2 separate regions of the Homo sapiens genome follow, and region 2 is linked to region 1. The links are contacts of gene promoters, found by promoter capture Hi-C in blood cells and fetal thymus (Javierre and others, 2016). All regions are on one chromosome and are shown on one strand. The core of a region is centred on a gene start or on the middle of the fragment in contact, and the rest is flanking DNA. Distances in the headings are between cores, read along the strand shown. Region 1 holds the start of BLTP1 (bridge-like lipid transfer protein family member 1). Region 2 overlaps BLTP1 (bridge-like lipid transfer protein family member 1).

The links. The method cuts DNA at HindIII sites, captures the fragments that hold promoters and counts their contacts. A CHiCAGO score of 5 or more calls a contact.
Region 2: a contact is called between a fragment that was not itself captured here and the fragment with the promoter of BLTP1 in region 1, in 1 of 17 cell types (neutrophils). The highest score is 5.1, in neutrophils.

The regions. Positions count from the first base shown.
Region 1 is chr4:122,148,095-122,155,266 of GRCh38, reverse strand. BLTP1 (bridge-like lipid transfer protein family member 1) reads right to left here and starts at 2,936. Exons shown (of 88, transcript NM_001384125.1): 1 at 2,683-2,936; 2 at 1,155-1,242. RefSeq lists silencers at 2,682-2,761, 2,832-3,021 and an enhancer at 2,844-3,645. The HindIII fragment of the contact is 21,892 bases long and covers 1-7,172 here.
Region 2 is chr4:122,301,959-122,309,130 of GRCh38, reverse strand. BLTP1 (bridge-like lipid transfer protein family member 1) reads right to left here. Exons shown (of 88, transcript NM_001384125.1): 56 at 4,148-4,333; 57 at 3,086-3,254; 58 at 971-1,182. Among named protein-coding and RNA genes, the nearest start is that of ADAD1, 73 kb to the left of the region's middle. RefSeq lists an enhancer at 2,820-3,350. The HindIII fragment of the contact is 3,544 bases long and covers 695-4,238 here.

The DNA of each region.
Region 1 (7,172 bases), core at 1,687-4,186:
AAAATAATATAAAATTTATTATAAATTCTTACTATATGAGTAATGCTCACTTTCTAGTCTCTTACATAAACCAAAAACATACTTGCTTATCAAATAAAGAAAACATATTAATTCACAAAAAATGTTACCTTCTAAGAGAAAATGCACTACTGTAGTGTTCTCCAGGGCCATGAAGACCATTGCTCTATTACCAGAAGCCTGGATGTCTGACACATGATACTCAATAGCTAGTTATGAAATGAATTACACTGCTTCTTAATCACCTTTGATCATGTCTTCCATTATTCTCTGTAGAATTCATAAAAAATATACTTGAGTTCAGCCATACACAATATTCTATGAAAAACAAACCAAAAGTCAACTACTTTTCTTCATTTTCTCAATTTTTGTTTTTTGAGATGGAGTCTCGCTCTGTCGCCCAGGCTGGAGTGCAGTGGTGCGATCTCAGCTCACTGCAAGCTCTGCCTCCTGGGTTCATGCCATTCTCCTGCCTCAGCCTCCCGAGTAGCTGGGACTACAGGCACCCGCCACCACGTCCGCTAAATTTTTGTATTTTTAGTAGACACGGGGTTTCACCATGTTAGCCAGGATGGTCTCGATCTCCTGACCTTGTGATCCGCCCGCCTCGGCCTCCCAAAGTGCTGGGATTACAGGCGTGAGCCACCGCGCCCGGCCATTTTCTCAATTTCTTCTTAAAACACTTTACAAACATAGGTAGATTAAAGAGCAAGCAAAAGAGAGAACAGAATTTTGACACCTGTTAAGCAAAGGATTTCCCTGCTTTCTCCTGCCAATGCACAGGCTAAGCACATGACTTAATTTGTCAATCAGGTATCAATAGCTCAAAAGTCAAGTAAAATGACTAACAGGTTACATTACATATCACCACCACCCCACCCCCATTCCCTAGCAATATAGGCAGATTAAACCACAACTGAAGCAGAAAGTCAGAAGACCCAGCTACTTGGGAGGCTGAGGCAGGAGAATGGCGTGAACCCGGGAGGTGGAGCTTGCAGTGAGCCAAGATCGCACCACTGCACTCCAGCCTGGGCAACAGAGCGAGACTCCGTCTCAAAAAAAAAAAAAAAAAAAAAAAAAAAAAAAGTCTTTAACCGAAAATTTGACCTTTTTAAAACTTAGCCAAAAATACTTACCCAAGTTTTTTTCCAGAGTTTGCAACGTTCTGTTTTTCCTTCTACTTTTCTTCAGATAGCCTTTCTGCAGTGTTTCATCTTAACAAACCTGAAAAGTATGGCATTTTAACTAATTATACAAGGTATTCTGGCTTTACGAGCAGCATAACCATTTCTGATTATATGATTTCGTTACTTAATCATGCACAAACAGGACGAAACTCTTTTAGTCCAATATTACGTTTCCTTGTTTAAAGTTTCCAAACAACAAATACTCCTAAGTATAAAATAAAACTACAACTTCCAAACTGAAGCCTTCCAAAGACTCCAAAACCACTGTACTTAAGAGCATGAGTTTGGTAATCAAAGGTCCTAGAGATCAAATCCTATGTTTAAAACATAACTCAAAATGCACATTGAGAAAGTTTCTCTCAAACTGTTGGGTCCTTGCCGGCAAGAACAGTGCCATAATGTCCTTCCTGGCATACTTTTTATCAAATGAAAATCTTGCAAAATCACAGGGTGCTTGGGAGTTGGTATGGCATACTGACTAAGGGACTGCAAACGAGTCAGATTACCTGGTTTCAGTCACAGCTCTGACTTTGAACATGTTACTTTGTAGGTCTATTCTGTTCTTTCATCTAGAAAATGGGAATAGTAGACTTTACATTATAGGATTGTTTTGATGATTAAATGTGATAATATATGCACATAATTATATGTACCACTCAATAGTTACAAAGTATTCTGGTTATTCATCTATTTTTATACTTTGTATATTTAACTTGGAATAAAACAACTTCATTGCTATGCACAGGGTGAAAGCAGAAACCACTAAACCGGTTGAAACTTACAGGCGCTTAGACAGTTATAAAGCCCATGATTTCCTTAAAAAGGAAATTCACATGAACTTTTACCTTTAACAAACGTCAACACTAAGGCCAACAGGAAGGTAAAAAAAAAAAAAAAAAAAACGACAACAACTAATACTCTCCGGAAGAAAAATCAACTTCTCTTCACCTTCCTTTGACCAATAGGAAATTCTGCTGAAACGTAGTCTTCTAGAGTGCAGTGCAGCAAGCACCAATTCAGAATACAAAACACATCAATCCCAGAGAAGAAAGCGGGGGTTGTTCCAAGGCTTCCCCGCCCTCGGTCAACCGACCCTATATTAAGCAGCATGGGGTCTACTACAACCCAGTGCAGCTGGCAAGGCTGCAGTCCGAGCCTGCGGGTGCACGGTCCTTCCTGCCGAGTCCACACACCAGCAAGTGGAGCGCCTTACCATCACCCGCAGGAACTGCTCCTGTATCAAAGTCCCCAGCCATCCGACTGCCATGGCCCTTCCAGACTTTGCCACTGACCTCCAACCCTCGGTTTATAGGTGCCAGGGCTGTAGGTAAGGATGGCAAAGGAATATGAAGGAGTCGCCGCCGCAGGCAGCCACTACTAAGCCAAAGCTCTCAGACTCCGACCAGGTTGAGTTCCAGAGACACTGGAAAAAGGGGCTGACGACCTCAACCCCGTCTGGCCCGGCCCATCCCCTCACCTGGGCGAGTGCCGAGGCAGCCCGAAATCCCTCTGGCCTCTCTCCGGGGAACGCCGAGGGCCTTGGGCGGCGGCAGGGGCGGCGACGGCAGCAGCACCGAGCCGGATGCAGCCTGCGAAGCTCTGCCGGTGCCCACACCCTTTAGCCCCGCCGCCCGGGGCCGCCGCCCAGGTCCAGACCCTGGCCGCAGCCACCGACACCCAAGGGGGCGGAGGAGGAGGGGAGGGGTCCCAACCGAGGCCGGGCGGCACTGCGCCTGCGTCAGGCAGCAACGTCACACGCCAGCGTCGCCGGCGCCTCGAGGTGCGCCACTCAAGCCCTGCCCAGGAATCCGGCGGCGTCCCGCCCTGTTTCCTCCTCTCTGGGCTGCAGAAGGAGCCAGAACCCTGAATTTGAAAATCACTTTGCTACCCTAACAACCCAAAGGAAAAGTTAGTGCCTTCCTGATAGCAGGAGACAGATAAGCCCACTTAGGAGACGGAGGCTAACGAAAAAGGAGCATCGGATGGGTGTATGACGTGAAATGAGTCCTTAAGAAATAGAGATGCTGTTATGACATGATCAATAAGAGAGCTCGATTGTGTGAAGTGCTGCCACGCTGAATCTCTCAACTAAGTCTATTATTATGCTGATGATATTAATGAAAAGTAATTTGCTGCTCCTCTTTTTAAAGAGAAAGGCTCTTAATATTATTTAGCGGGTGAACCAAGGCAAACGACTTCTTGGAATTAGAGGAATGTCGCAGATATTTATTTGTCTGCGCTATATACTAGCAATAGTAAACAGTGTTTAGCAGGGCTTATTGACTAATCCTTCCAAAATCCTGTGAGGCTATTCTCATCCCCGTTTATCTCCATTTCACAAATTGAAAAACTAAGACACTGAGAGGTTAAATAACTTGCTAGAGAACCAGGGTTTGGACCCAAGAAATGTGGCTCCAAAGTATTACTGTATACTGCCTCTGAAGTTCCAAATGTCTAAATCTCTAGTTCTGACTTCTTTCCGGAGCTGAGGTACTTACTACAACCTTAATATTTCCACATGGCTGTTCCACTCTCACCTCAAAAGGAACAGATATGAAACCAAATTTAAGATAATGCCAGAAAACACACGAGGTACAACAATTAACTGTTATTGCATATAAGGAAATAGAGGCCCAGACAGAAGTGGTTTATGGAAGGACTGGATGAAAACCAAAAGGAGAAAAGCATGCACTGTCTTAGTTACTTCCTTCTGCTACCTGGACACTGGTACTGGCCTTATGTCAATTAACTCTTTAGAGTTTATTTCTGCCCCTCTACAAAGAAATTAATTTCAGTTGTCTTTTTCAACATCTGGAAGATTTCTAGTCAATCTTTGTTTTGTAATAAGGGAACCACCACAAGGATTCAAATTTGCTACAGCCAAACTTCGGATTTTGCCCAAGAAGGACATTGTGCAAGTACAAGTTCTCTGGACTAGAAATTACCTAGAGATGGTTCAAGTTCCCCAAATCAAAAACTAAACTGAAACTAAGTTGCACTGTAGCAGAGGGGAGAGGAGAGAAGGAAGTTCACTATGGCCTTTCTGTAACCGTGTGAGGGGACTGTGGGAATCTGGAAGTTTCTGCCTCTACTTCCTTTCCATCCCTGTGATCAAGAGTCACCCTGTAACTACAGCTATGCATTAGGCGACATTGTATAAATGAATTATTTATTTTAGAAGCCTCTATTCTAAAGGCCTTTAGTCTTGTGAAAATAATTATGCTCTTTGACATTTCATATGGCTCACTAAATTTGCATGGCAAGGCTTACTGCCTTCTCCAGTCTCCCACCTATTTTTCATTTTTCTCTAGCATGCCGTTAAAGTAAGGATGCCAAAGAAACTGTCTCCATTGAATCCAAGAAGAATTTCTCTAATGATGAAAGCCTTCAAGTGATTTTTTATATCTTACTTTTTATTTGAAATAATTATAAATTCACAGGAAGTTGCAAAGATAGTTCAGAGTGGTCTCATGTACTCTTCACCCAGTTTCCCCCATAGTTACATCTTGTATAATTATAGTACAGTAAGAAAACCAGGAATCTGACATTAGTACAATGTCTGTATGTAGCTCTATGTCATTTTATCGTGTGTAATTCCATGTGACTATCACTACAAACAATACAGACCTCTTTTATCACCACAAAGATCTCCCTTTTACTACCCCTTTATAGATGCACCCACCCCTCCTCCCCATATAACAACCCTAACTCTTGGCAACCAGTAATCTGTCTTCCATCTTTGTAATTTTATCATTTTGAGGATGTTATATAAATGAAAGTGTACAGTGTGTAACCTTTAGGAACAGGCTTTTTTCACTCTACATAATTCACTTGAACTGTATCCAAATTGTCATCTATATCAATAGTGTGATCTTTTGATTGCTGAGCAGTATTCCAATATATGGATGTTCCACAGTCTAATCATTCACCCATTGAGGAACATTTTGTTGTTTTCAGTTTGAGGCTATTACAAATAAAGCTACTATAAACAATAGTGTACAGGTTTGTTTGTGTGGTCTAGTGATTTTTTAAAAAGGAAAACAACACAGGAAATTTTGGCCACTAAAAAGCATTGTTTTTTAAACTTCTATTTTAAGTTCAAGGGTGCATGTGCAGGTTTGTCACATAGGTAAACTTGTGGTGTCATGGGGGTTTGTTGTACAGAACATTTCATCACCCAGGTATTAAGCCTAGTACTCAGTTAGTTTTCTTGATCCTCTCCCTCATCCACCTTCACCCTCCCATAGCCACCAGTGTGTGTTTTTCCCTTCTGTTTGTCCATGAGTTCTCTTCATTTAGTTCCCACTTATAAGTGAGAACATGTGGTGTTTGGTTTTCTGTTCCTGCGTTAGTTTGCTAAGGATAACGCCCTCCAGCTCTATCCATGTCCCTACAAAGGACATGATCTCATTCTTTTTATGGCTGTATAGTATTACATGGTATATATGTACCACATTTGCTTTATCCAGTCTATCATTAATGGGCGTTTAGGTAGATTCCATGTCTTTGCTATTGTGAATAATGCTGTAAATGAAGATACGTATGCATGTGTCTTTATAATAGAATGATTTATATTCCTTTGGGTATATACCCAGTAATGGGATTGCTGGGTCAAATGGCTTTTCTGTCTCTAGGTCTTTGAGGAATTGCCACACTGTCTTCCACGATAGTTGGACTAATTTACACTCCTACCAACAGTGTATACATGTTCCTTTTTCTCTGCAACCTCACCAGCACCTGTTTTTTTTTTTTTTTTGACATTTTAGTAATAGCCATTTTGAGTGATGTGATTTTGATTTGCATTTGTGGTTTTGTTTTGCATTTCTCCAGTGATCAATGATGTTGAGTTTTCTCATATCATTGTTGGCCGCATGTATTTCTTCTTTTGAGAAGGGTCTGTTCATGTCCTTTGCCCAATTTCTAATGGAGTTGTTTGTTTTTTTCTTGTAAGTTTAAGTTCTTTATAAATGCTGGATATTAGACCTTTGTCACATGCGTACTTTACAAAAATTTTCTCCCATTCTATAAGTTGTCTATTTACTCTGTTGATAGTCTCATTTGCTCTGCACAAGCTCTTTAGTTTAATTAGCTCCCAATTGTCAACTTTTGCTTTCGTTGCGATTGCTTTTGGCATCTTCGTCATGAAATCTTTGCCCGTACCTGTTTCCTGAATGGTATTGCTTTGGTTTTCTTCCAGGATTTTTATAGTTTTAGGTTTTACATTTAAGTCTTTAATCCATCTTGAGTTAATTTTTGTGTATGGTGTAAGGAAAGGGACCAGCTTAAATCTTCTGCATATAGCTAGCCAGTTCTCCCAGCACCATTTATTGAATAGGGAATCCTTTCCCTGTAGAACACTATGTTTTTAAGGTGGGCTCACGGTGAAAAGGTGAAGTTTATCTATTTGAGCTCTCTCTTTTCCCCCTTGGTCCTCTTATTTTCCATTCAGAGGTTTACATACAAAGGTCAGCTTCTGAGTCAGATTAAATAAGGCTTTCGTGGCCTCCCTGAAGTTATCCTCCATACCTCTTCCTGCCCCTATAAATTTCACTTTTTTTTTTTTTTGAGACAAAGTCTCGCTCTTGTCCCCCAGGCTGGAGCGCAATGGCGCGATCTCAGCTCACTGCAAACTCTGCCTCCCGGGTTCAAGTGATTCTCCTGCCTCAGCCTCTCGAGTAGCTGGGATTACAGGTGCCTGCCACCACAACCGACTATTTTTTTTTTTTTTGTATTTTTACTAGAGACAGGGTTTCACCATGTTGGCCAGGCTGGTCTCGAACTCCTGACCTCAAGTGATCCGCCTGCCTTGGCCTCCCAAAGTGCTGGGATTACAGGCATGAGTCACCACGCCCAGCCTAAATTTCACTTTTATATAAAGCCCTAAAAATAAATCAATGAAGACAAAAATCTTCAAGTTTAAAGAGATCGAATGTAATAAATTTCTAACTGTATAATTTCAGACACAAT
Region 2 (7,172 bases), core at 1,217-3,716, 150 kb before region 1:
GATGCCTTTTAAAAATTAAATTGCTTAAGTGCAATGTACTTGCCATGTGCATTTTTTTTCTTACTTAACATACAAAGGGCTATCTACATTTCTATCTCAAGCCTCTCTTTTAGTTGTGGGGAGATGATCTCACTATGCCACCCACCTGTGGTGTTTATGGCCTTCCTAGGCAGTGCCCATTATGCTATTAAAAAACTACTATATTTCAGTTCCTGAAACACAAACATACCAATGCCACCCATCCTCAACCTGAAGTTTTTCTTAACACTGTCTTACCGAACAGAATCCTAAAAGATAAATTAATTCAACAACTGGTTACAAGTTATTAAGGTAAATTGTAACAGTAAAATATAGATCTCTATATGCTATTGTTAATAACTGTTGCTTCTTGGCCTGACAGGTGTTCATAGCCTTTTCTCTCTCTCATACACACATGTGCATGCAGTTACATATTCCTGAAAATTGGTCTTAAGTTGCAAAGAGAAAATTCCTGGTTTATGTGCACACTGCTTTGAAGTTTCATTACCATTAAATATTACAGTATAAAAGCATTTTGGAATTCCCTATTCTATTACAGGTTAAGTTCATTAAACAGTATTCTTAAATGTCCTTTTATTTCCATCTTATAAACAAGTCCATACCAATGACTTCCTTGTTAAAAAAGAAAACAATAAAATGATTCTGAAACTAAGCTTCTTTTTATGAAGGTAAAAATTAAGAGTTATCTGGGGGGTATCAATCTTATCACTATTCTGAAGCATATAAGAGTGCTTCAGAGAAAAGTCCCATGAGATTAAGATTTAATACATTGAGATGAGTAATGGTTGAAGGAATTCAATCTTACTTGCTACCTACTAAACAGTTATAAACTGTTACACTGAAAAATGTACTGTTATATTCTAAATACTTAGAAATGGTTATGTAGAAATGCCTGGCTCTTAATCCTGGAATATGACTTGACTTTTTGTACCTGTGCAGTATTTGTGATAGGTAGGCAAATTCCCAGATCATTGACAGTGAGCTGGAGAAAAAGAGTCCCAAAGGCCTGGGCTGATGTTTGCTGGATACCAGGTAGCATATCTACTACTTCCTTTGTAGCCATATGAATATCCTTATGTAAAGCCATTCGTTGTTCATTCCAGTTGTCATAGGCGGCCTTATAATTCAGCCAAAACAGCACAGCTTTTGATAATTAAGACAGGGCAGAAAGAAAATTAAAATCAACACTGTAAATCTATATGTTAAGTAAAACTCAAAAGCTGCAAAATCCTGTTGCTTAATAAAAATTACACCCAGAAAACTGTAGCATTAGAATTAGGAAAGATCTAAGAGGACATATAGTCACCATTTTTTAAATAACAAATGAAAAAATAAAACAGAAAGCAGGCAACCACATAATGGCACAAGGAAGAAGAAAATCCAGGTCTGTTCATTCCCTCTAACTTATTTGTGAAATGCCTATTATATGTTAGATACTGGGATGGAATAACAAATGAAAACAGACATGGTGCTTAACTTCATCTGTAGAGCTGTTACTTCTTTTAAAATTCTTTAAGGTACATAATGCTAGGAACATACCATTAAAAGGATCTGATTTACAGAGAAAAGTCAAAGATGTTTGAGTTTGTTAAACAGAAACAAACCTTAAGGAAAACCTTCATTTCACAGCAGTGTATAGATGGAGGGGCCTCTAAAAAGGACATAAAGATGGAGAGGCCAGAGAAGTAGGAGGAAAAGCAAATGCAGGTTGAGCATCCCTAATCCGAAATCCAAAATCCCAAAACTTTCTGAATGTTGATATGATGCTACAAGTGGAAAATTCCACATCTGAACTCATGTGAGACTGCAGCCAAAATGCTGTCAAAACTTTGTTTCATGCACAAAATTATTTAAAATATTTTATAAAATTATCTTCAGGCTATGTGTATATGGTGTATATGAAACATAAATAAATTTCATGTTTAAACTTGGGTCCCAGCCCCAAGATATCTCATTATGTATACACAAATATACCAAAATCTGAAAAAATCCAAAATCTGAAACACTTCCTGTCCCAATTACTTTGGAAAACCAGTACTCAACCTGTTTTGTGTCAAGGACACCAAGGGTACAAAATACTTTAAGAAGCTGATGAAAGCTGATGAGAGGTCAGTAAAATGAGAACTGAAAAACATGTACATGGGATTCAGCAAAATAAAATGCTATCTGTAACACTGCCAAAAGGGCAATTTTCTAACAGGATTCTGTTACTAGCCTATGTCCATCACTGATGAAGATCTTAAATGGCTTCTTAAATGGCTCCTCATTACTTCTAAAATACAGTTCAAATATATTTGCCCAATCCACATTAATTAGACCTTGTCTACCTGTTCAGCCTTCTTTCCCATTATTTTCTTCTATGAAACCTACTGCTATATTTTCTTAGACTTATGTGTTTAAACACATTCATTCTTATTCTCTCTTACTCAATGTTTATTTCGTTCTTATTGTATGCCAGGGACTGTTCTAGGCCCTGGGATATAAAAGTAAATTTCATTTCCTTATCTCCCTGGTGAACTCCTAATTCAAAGTCAAATCAAGAATTAGTTTCTCCTCTAAGAAGCATAGGCAAAGGTAGAGAATTCCTCAGAACCAAGAACACATCTCTGACTCCACTGTGTAGTCTACTTTGTTTTCTTTTCCACTGGACTGACAGGTCCTTGAGGGCAGGGATACTGTTGTTTATTTTTGTATTCCACTTCTAGGCAGTACCTGATAAATGTTTATAGAATATAAAAATAAACACAGTGCCAAAACACAAATGGGTGCATTAATTATCAAAACAAAAAAAATCAGCATTACAATTACATAATCTGAAGCAGACACTCTTATGTTATCCAGCCAGAAGACAAAATAACTTTAAAATGTAAAATAACTTTTAAAAACTGAAGGCAAAAAGCAAGATTTTTTTTTTGGATACACACATTTCAGATTTAGGAACCATTTAGCTGTCAAGCATTTACACCAGTAAACTACAAGATTCTTATCTAGCATTAACAAAGCATTCCTAGATCCCAGAGGATAGTAGTGATTGACTTTATCTTACCTCTATCAAAGGCCACAGGCTGTGCATAAACAATTGGTCTATTCAAAGTAATAAGCACAGCTTCCCTATCTGAAGAACCACTGATTTCTTCTCGGAGGGCATTTCTTAATCCAATTCTGGTTTTAAAATAGGCAACTTGATGAAAATCAGAACCAGCTTCCTCATAAACCTAAAATAAAATTTAAAGCTCAATAAAATAAAATAATGGAAAAAGTTTTAATATGAAACTAAACATTATTAATGGTATTGTTCACCAAAAAAACTATAATACATTTTTCTCAAATTCAGCTGTTAATGTATATTCCTTATACTCTGTACCATAAACACTTGAAATTAATATACAAAATAGCCATGCAAGAAGTAAATATGAAGTCATAGATAAACTTTATATAAAAGTTAGGATGAGGTCCATATTCTAAATGGCAATGTATTAAATATTTCAGAATAATTAGAACCTCTAAGAGATGACAAGAAATTTTTGTTCATTTTTTCCTCGTATCTTTAATGCAGCGATTCAGTTTTGAAACTGTGACTGGCATTTTTCTACTTGGTTCTTCAAAGAGGAAAAAAGATTAAAATCTACATAATAATTTTTGGCAAAATAAAAACAAAAAAAATCTCCAATAAGCTGTGAACATTCATTTTTATAAAATAGAGAATCTAACTGCTGTTTTTTAACTTTATTTAACATTACTATATGCAGAACTTGCTAATATTCTACAGGAAAGGTATACACTTAACATTTTAAGAACTGAGTAATGTTAGCACAAGACTTTGAAATAAAAAATGTTTAGCAAAATAAAAAAAATTACAAGCAAATGATTACGAAGATACTGGATTAAGTTTTATGTGAGTGCATCTGCACTAAACTATAACAATATGCGGCTACAATTTTCAATGAAATGCCAAGGTAAATGAGTTTTCACTGAATTTATAATCAGAAACTTTAGGAAATTAAACTAAATATTTTTGTAAATATAATAATACATAAGTTACAGTAGTTAAAATTGATGTGCAAAATTTAAAAGCCATCGTTCTAACATCAACATATTCTGTACTCACCTGATGTTTGACAATTTGTCCTAATGCCAGATTTAAATCCACCTGGCATTTGCCAAACAGTTTCAGATAGCTGCTACTTCCTGGTGAAGCTTTGGTTTGAAGTCGGTTAGAAAGTTCCAGTTCAATCAATCCAGTTTCAAATCTTACAGCTCTCATTGATGGAGTAGTGGCCGTTACTTGAATACCCTAGCAGATTATATGTTAGGAGGAAAAAAATGAATCTTAAATCAACAACATATACCTACTCAAATGTAGTCTTTCAGTATATGATAAATAAAATAGTCGTGTTTTAAACCATGAACAGGCATACCTTGGAGATAATATGGGTTTGGTTCCAGACCATTGTAATAAAGTGGGTCACACAAATTTTTTTGTTTTCCAGTGCATATAAAAGGTTATACTACAGTCCATTAAATGTGTAATACCATTATGTCTAAAAAACATTGTACATGCCTTAATTTAAAAAATACTTTGGCTGGGCGTGGTGGCTCACGCCTGTAATCTCACCACATTGGGAGGCTGAGGCAGGCAGATCACTTGAGGTCATGAGGTCGAGACCACCCTGGCCAACATGGTGAAACCCTATCTCTACTAAAAATACAAAATTAGATGGGCATGGTGGTGTGTGCCTGTAATCCCAGCTACTCAGTAGGCTGAGGCAGGAGAATAGCTTGAACCAGGGAGTCGGAGGTTGCAGTGAGCCGAGATCATGCAACTGCACTCCAGCCTGAGACAGAGCAAGACTCTGTCTCAAAAACAAAACAAAACTTTATTGCTAAAAAATGCCAACAATCATCTGAGCTTTTAGTGGGTTGTAATCTTTTTGCTAGTGGAGGGTCTTGCCTTGATGTTGATGGCTGCTGACTGATCATGGTAGTGGTTGTTGAAGTCTGGGGTGACTGTGGCAGTTTCTTCAAATAAAATGACAATGAGGTTTGTGTCACTGATTGACTCTTCCTTTCATGAAAGACTTCTCTGTAGCATATGATGCTGTTTGATAGCATTTTACCCACAGCAGAACCTCTTCCAAAGTTACAGTCAATCCTTTCCATACCTTGCCACTGCTTCATCAACTAAGTTTATGGAACATTCTAAATCCTTTGTCATTTCAACAGTGTTTACAGCATCTTCACCAGGAGTAGATTCTATCTGAAGATAGAATTTCTTTGCTCATTCATAAGAAGGAACTCTTCACCCATTCAAGTTTTATCATAAGATTGCAGCAATTCAGTCCCATCTTCACGCTCCACATTTAATTCTAGTTCCCTTGCTATTTCCACCCTGTCTGCATTTACTTCCTCTACTGAAGTGTCTTGAGTCCCTCAAAGTAATCCATGAGAGTTGGAACCGACTTCTTCCAAAGTCCTAGTAATGTTGATATTAGCACCTCCTCTCATGAATCAAAGTGTTCTCTCTTCCAGAAGGTTTTCAATTTACTTTGCCCAGATCCATCTGAGGAATCACTATCTATGAAAACTGTAGCCTTACAAAATGTATTTCTTAAATCATACACTTGAAAGTTGAAATTACTCAATTCATGAGCTGCAGAAGAAATGTGTTAGGCATAAAAACGTTAATTTCCTTGTAAATTTTCACCAGAGCTCTTAGGTGACCAGGTGCATTGTCAGTGAGCAGTAATATTTTTAAAGGACTCTTTGTTCTGAGCAGTAGACCCATAGCGGGCTTAAAATATTCAGTGAACCATGTTGTAAAAAGATGTGCTGTCATCAAGACTTTGTTGTTCCACTGATAGAGCATAGGCAGAGATTTAGCGTAATTCTTAAAGGCCCTAGGATTTTCAGAATGGTAAATGAGCACTGGCTTCCACTTAAAGTCACCAGCTGCATTTGACCCTAACAAGAGTCAGCCTGTCCTTTGAAGCCAGGCATTGATTTCTCTCTAGCTGTGAAAGTCCTAGCTAGCATCTTTTTCCCATAGAAGGCTACATGGAAAAATCTGTCGTTTAGCGTAACCACCTTCATCAATTATTCTAGCTTGATCCTCAGTTTGCACTTTTATGTTATGAAGACAGGTTCTTTCCTTAAACATTATGAACCAATCTCTGCTAGCTTCCAAGTTTTCTTTTGCAGCTTCCTCACCTCTCCCAGCCTTCATAGAATTGAAGAAAATTAGGGCATTGCTCTGGATTAGGCTTTAGCTTAGGGGAATGTTGTGGCTGGTCTATCCACACCATTCAAACTTTCTCCATATCTGCAATAAGGCTGTTTGGCTTTCTTATCATTCCTGTGTTCACTGGAGTAGCACTTTTAATTTCGTTTAAGAACTTCACCTTTGCATTCACAACTTGGCTAACTGGCGCAAGAGACCTAGCTTTCAGCCTGTCTTGGCTTTTGACATATCTTCCTCACCAAGCTTAATCGTTTCTAGCTTTTGATTGAAAGTGAGAGATGTGCAACAACATTTAACGATTTAGTTTGCTATCCTACATTGGTGCAGCTCCTGGCGCCCCTAAACAATTCCCGCAGCAACATCAAAGATTTCTGATCACAGAGCATTATAACAGACATATAATACTAATGAAAAAGTTTGAAATATTGTGAGAATTAGTAAAATATGACACACAGAAAGTGAATATATGCTATTGGAAAAATGGCACCTTCAATTCATAAAAAAACCTCAATACCTGTGAAACACAATAAAGCGAAGTGCAATAAAACAAGGTATGCCTGTATAGGATATGTCTAATGAACTGATAAAACTGGCAACGTTAATTTCTCGTGTTAGTAGCAATTTTTTCCCATTATGTTTCATTTTGATATTTTATATTTAAAATTTAGTATTCAATGGATTGAATACATTAAATACAATTAAATAACTTTTATGAACACCAGTATCTTAAATATTGGAAATATTAAGTTTTCTATTAAAATAATATAGTCTTTGTTTGTTTTTTAAGACAGGTCTCACTCTGTTGCCCAGGCTCAAATGCAGTGGCACAACCACAGCTCACTGTAGCCTTGAACTTCCAGACTGAAGCAATCCTCCTGCTTTAGCCTCCGAAGTA